2 separate regions of the Homo sapiens genome follow, and region 2 is linked to region 1. Evidence: promoter capture Hi-C in 16 types of primary human blood cells and fetal thymus (Javierre and others, 2016). All regions are on one chromosome and are shown on one strand. Each heading gives the region's core, a stretch centred on a gene start or on the middle of the fragment in contact. The rest is flanking DNA. Distances are from core to core; before and after follow the strand shown. Region 1 holds the start of RTN4RL2 (reticulon 4 receptor like 2). Region 2 holds the start of SMTNL1 (smoothelin like 1).

Region 1 (2,700 bases), core at 39-2,538:
TCTTCGCCGGTTCCTGATACCCCTTCTCTAGTCACCATCCCCATCCTTCTCTGGTTTCTGATCTTTCCATTCTCCTTTTCCATTCCAGTCCCCAGGGTCCCAGTCCTGATTCTCTTTCCCGCTACCTCCATCCCAGGATTCTGGGTCCCTGTCCATAGTCTTCTTCCCATCCCTCCCCTGATCTGGTCTTTCCTCTCCTTCCCTCTTCCTTGGTCTTCACCTGGGTCCCACTTCCCTCCACGCTTTTCCCATCTAACCTTTATTCCTTCTCCCCCTCCCCCGCTCCATCTCCCTCCTCCTTTGAGCTTCCCTCACCACTTTCTCCATCTTTGAGTTCTCCTTCCTATCCCTCTCCCCCTGACCCCTCCCCACCCCACCCCCAGTCTCTGGCCCACACCCTTATCTGTCACTCAATCAGTAGAACTATCCTCTTTCTAGCGCCCTCCATCTCTCCTACCAGAGAGGGCCACTTGGATTTCCCTCTGCGCCTCCTACCTCCCCAGACAGCCCCCTACCCACATCTCCTGTCTTCCCAGGTGGCCAGAAAGTGCTGAGGCACCGGGCAGGAGGAGTTGCTGAGTCGGCGCTTCCCCAGCCGGCCCGAGTCCTCAGCGTCCCCCGGAGCAGGTGGAGCGGGGACAGCGGAACCTGAGCCTCCCTCCCCGCTCCGGGCCGGGTCCACCTGCCCCCTGCGTCCCACCTCGGTCACGAGCTCCTCGCACGCGCCCGCGGGCTCCCAGCCAAGTGCCCTCCTGCTGAGAACAGCCCTGGCGGCGGGGGCGCGGCCCCAGCGCTGAGCTTTTCCCCTTCCCCAGGTTACCCCACCTCCCCAACTGCCCCACCCTCAATCCCTGAAAGAGGGGACGCCCTGCTTCTCTCCCCAGGATGCCCTCCGCTCTCCCGCCGCTGGCGTTCTTACCTTGCAGCAGGCGCCTGAGCCCGGGCAGCATCTTGTCTCGATGCTCGGGGGAGGGGGCAGCGGGGGGAGGGCGCTCCCACTCGCTCCCTGAGCCCGCCGGATGCACGGCGGGGACCCCGCGGGGCTCCGGGAGGGCCCGGGAGTCCCCGGGCTGCGTGGCCGGGCCGCGGCGCTCTACCCTGCGCCGCCCGGGCTGCGGGCCTCGGGAGGAGCCATCGGCCCCGACGGGACGGGGCGGGGCGCGACGGGGCGGGGAAGGCTGGGGCTGGCCGTCGACGCCCAGCGCCCGCGCCCCGCTAGCTGCGCTGTCCGCTCGAGAGTCCGTCAGTCCGTCTGTCCGTGTGCCCAGGCTGCTAGCCGAGGGAGAGTGGGGACAGCGAGGAAGCTCTTCCCAACCACCCCCACTCCTTCCCGCACTCGCTGGCTCCTCCCTCGTTTGCTGGCTTGCCGACTTAACCCTTTCTCGACCACTAGGAGGCGGGAGCGGCTTTCTAACCCCCTCCACCCCGCCCCCCTCCCCCCCGCTTAAGCGACCCGGAGGACTGTGTTCGATCGTCCTCGCGGCGCCACTCTTCTAGAGAAATCCCTTCTTGGGGGAATGCGGTAGTTTAGAGGAACGCCGTGGACTTGTCCTGTTCCCCCCTCCCAACTTTCCAGGAGAAGATGAGCTTCTGGGTCACCCCCTCCCCCGCCCCCAGCCGCGTCCCTCGCGCCAGTGTCCCAGCCTCCAGCATTTCTGTCCCCTGGGACAGCTCCAAGATTCCACTTTTCCTTCCACTCCCAGACCTCAAGCCCAGTGTGCGACTATAAGAATAGTATATGCAAGAGTTTGTGCGTGCAAGATCGAGTGCATATGAGCGTGCACGTGCGCGCAAGGATGCTTGTGCAGGTGTGACTCAGGATGCTTGCCCGTTACCCTTTGTACGGGCTTGGGGAAGCGGGGGGGGGGGCACGTGAGTGTGCACACGGGTGAGCCGCTGAAAGTCCGCCAGCGTGCATGTCTGAGCTGGTGGGAAACGTGAGGCTGTGCGAGGTTTTGCGCTTGCGATCTTGGGGATGGGTGGAAAGAAATATGTGCCCGGTGTGTGTATGCCCCTTAGTGCATTTACAAGCGGGTGCGAGATGGGCGCGCGTGCGAGTGTGTGCGTTTTTTTGTGTATGTATGATGTGTCCGGGAGGGGAGACCTTATCTCCCGCGGGGGTGCAGGAGAGGACCCAAAGCTGGGGAGAAGACTGTTGGCTTCGCGTGAACTTCCTCTACCCCCTTTTAAAGAGGGGCGGATTATGGTCTCACTGGAGCCCCTCTGGCCCTTCATGGCCTGGTCACAGGCGGTATCAGCAGACCCATCACCTAGGCACTTCCCTACAAAGGCTGCAGGGCGGTTGACCCAGGTCTTGACTCGGCCCGGCGCGTCCGCGGAGCCGCCCCGGCGTAGGATAGGCTCGGGGCCCTCGGGGGAGCCGCTTCGGGTACGGTGGCCAGGCAGCGCTGGCGGGGTTGGGGCTGCTGGAGCCTCAGGTGCGGCGGTGCCGGGGCTGCTGAGCCCCCTGGGCTGCCGCTCCCGCGAGCACAGAAGCCCCTCGCCCCGCTGCCCGCGCCGCGGCTCCTCCTTTCCTATCCGTGCCAGGGTCCAATGCAGTGCCTGGCATACAGTCGGCTCTTGATAAATGTTGGTCTTATTCTTCCCATTCATTCTCTGCTCCCTCCACGGTCTCTCGTTCTTCTCGCGTTCTCATTCGATTTCTCTGGTTTTCTCCCCCGACTCTTACTCATATTTCGT
Region 2 (2,700 bases), core at 180-2,679, 77 kb before region 1:
GTGGTGGAGGGGAAGGGTAGGTGCACGCACACGGACACACACCTCGGCTATCCTGCGTGTTTATCACCTCAGCTTTCCACCCTCCAGGCTTGTCACAAATAGAAAAGGAGTGAAGATGCTCAGAATGCTGAGAAACCAGGACGCCACCACCCACCCCCAGCATTCACAGCCCTACAGCAGTTTACAGCTTATGCTGCGGAGGCCCTGCTTTCTCTTGGTCATTTCTTGCTCCGACCCTTCAGAATAGGTTATTGGCCCCATTAGGGAGCCAATGGGGATTTCAGGCTCAGGGAGTTGAAGTCCCTTGACTAAAGTTATAGGACAAGTGGCCTGGCTCTCTATCTAGAATCCAAGTATCCCAACTTCCACTCCAGAGCTCACATCAAATATATGCTCCCACTAGCTCCGCAGCCCAGTGTCCCTACAAAGGCCCTGGCCCAGAGTGGGGGCACCCCACCAGTTGGGAAGGGCAGTCAGATTCAGCCGAGGAGTTCCTCCCTCTTTCTTCTAGGTGCACAGTAGGCCCTTCATGAAAGTTTCTCTGCCCCCACCTTCCTTTCTTATTCTCTCCTTTCCTTCCTCCTTCCTTCCCCAGGAAGTCTCCAAACCATCCCTGTTTTGTGTCCAAAGCAGCACTGCAGATATCTCCCCTCCCTCTCTCTTCCTGTTTCTTCTGGCAGACCAGGAGGAAAGGGACCCAGGAGCCCAAGATCCAAACTCCCAGTAGTATAAACACTGGATGTTCTGTGGTGCGTCTGCCACCCACTGCAGCCTCATCTGTCATCTGGTTGTCCTAAGGCTTCCACCTTCCCCACTCAGCCAGGGGCCCTCCCTTGGAGAGGCCGACCTCAATTGCTTAGACTAGGGGTATCCAATCTTTTGGCTTCCTTGAGCCACACTGGTAGAAGTAGAAGTGTCTTGGGCCACATGTAAAATACGTTAACACTAACGATAGTGGATGAGCTAAAACAAAAATTGCAAAAAAAAAAAAAATCTCATAATGTTTTAAGAAAGTTTATGAATTCATGTTGGGCTACATTCAAAGCCATCCTGGGCCACAGGTAGCCTGTGGGCTGGACAGGCTTGGCTTAGACAGTCTACCCCCCAACCCAGTTTGACTCTTGAGACTCCCAAGGTCCCCTCCCCTGCTCTGTGGCCTCCTCGTGGATGGCCACTTGCAGTCTGCTCTGTAGGTGCTCTGGTGCAGGGCTGAGACCCCAGGCATCTAAAGAGAGTAGACATTGTGGTGGAGAGAATTAGAAAGGAGCCTGGATTTCTCCAAATGGGGGGCCCTCCTGGGAGGCTCTGGCCCTTGGACAGTGGGAGTGAGAATTGGCAGATGGGGAGGGACCCTTAGAAAGGGTGCCAGGGCTTCTCCTACCTGTGGGGCTTCTGCCTGTGGCTTGGGAGCTGTCTCTTTGCTCCAGCTGAGTGGCCTCACTCCCAGGCTGCCTTTAAGCCCCAGTGGCCTCTAGCCCCCAGCTCTTTGGTCCCGCCTCCCCCCTTCCTCTCCCTCTTCCACCCCACCCCCACTTCAAGAGTCTTGGGCTGCCTGAAGAGCATTGTTTACTGGCCTGTTGGTACAACACTTTACCCTAGACTGGGAGGCTCGGATTTCCCGTGGAAGATCTGACAGGTGGCACCTTTCAATCACGGCACGTCCCTTCCGCCCTGAGCCTGGCAGCATCCGTCCTGTGGTCATCTTTCTCCCCAGTGGACTCTCCTAACCCTAGGGACCTTGACAACCATCTTCAGGACTCATTTAGAGCATGGCCCTGGCCTCCACTGCTCATCCAGAGCCCAGGCGAGGCCTCTTGTGCTCCCTTCACACCCACCCCGCCACGTTCCTTACATAGCCCCTTTCCCTCGTCCTCAGACAAAAGCAGCTGCTTAAGGCTGGGCTAAGGAGGGGGCGAGTAGGGCAGCTGCCAACACAGGGGATGTGTCTTGGGGCTCACAGTTGACTGAGAGATTTGGAGGGGGAGGGGCAGAGAGGGCAAAAGTGATGGGACAAGCTGACGGATCACTGGACGGAGCCTGGAAAATACAAAACTCCTGAGTTCTATTTTGAGCTGAAGTGACAGGTACACAGTAGGCTCTGAACACATTTTTATACTGAACTGACATTTTGCTAAGAAAAAAACAAAACAAGCCTGGGCATGGTGGCTCATGCCTGTAATCCCAGCACTTTGGGCAGCCGAGGCGGGTGGATTGCTTGAAGCCAGGAGTTCAAGAACAGCATGGTCAACAGGGTGAAACCCTGTCTCTACTACAAATACAAAAATTGGCCGGGCTTGGTGGCGCATGCCTGTAATCTCAGCTACTTGGGAGGCTGAGGCACGAGAACTGCTTGAACCTGGGAGGCAGAGGTTGCAGCAAGTCACTGCACTCCAGCTTGGGTGACAGAGACTCCATCTCAAAAAAAAGTCTTCACTTTCTCTGTGTGTTTTACAATCTAAGAAAGGCACTACTTTTGGAGAATGGGTGCAGAGGACACTCCCACGAAGCTTGGGATCCCCCCCAGTCCTCCTACCCCAAGCCCCACCACTGGGCCACACTGGCCTCCTTCCTATTCCTTAAATAAATCCATCCCTTTTCAGACTCAGGACTGGTTTTTCCTTCTACTCTTTGTAAGACTGCCTCCCTCTCATTCTTCTGGACTTAGCTGAAATTTCATTCCCTCAGAGAGGTTTTCCATGA

What was found. The method cuts DNA at HindIII sites, captures the fragments that hold promoters and counts their contacts. A CHiCAGO score of 5 or more calls a contact.
Region 2: the fragment with the promoter of SMTNL1 here is called in contact with the fragment with the promoter of RTN4RL2 in region 1 in 1 of 17 cell types (neutrophils); the score reaches 5.8 in neutrophils.

Annotation. Positions count from the first base shown.
Region 1 is chr11:57,459,116-57,461,815 of GRCh38, reverse strand. It overlaps RTN4RL2 (reticulon 4 receptor like 2), which reads right to left and starts at 1,288. Exons shown (of 3, transcript NM_178570.3): 1 at 920-1,288. The coding sequence starts at 950. RefSeq lists silencers at 1,012-1,281, 2,381-2,440. The HindIII fragment of the contact is 14,932 bases long and covers 1-2,700 here.
Region 2 is chr11:57,536,324-57,539,023 of GRCh38, reverse strand. It overlaps SMTNL1 (smoothelin like 1), which reads right to left and starts at 1,429. Exons shown (of 8, transcript NM_001105565.3): 1 at 1,382-1,429. The HindIII fragment of the contact is 14,036 bases long and covers 1-2,509 here.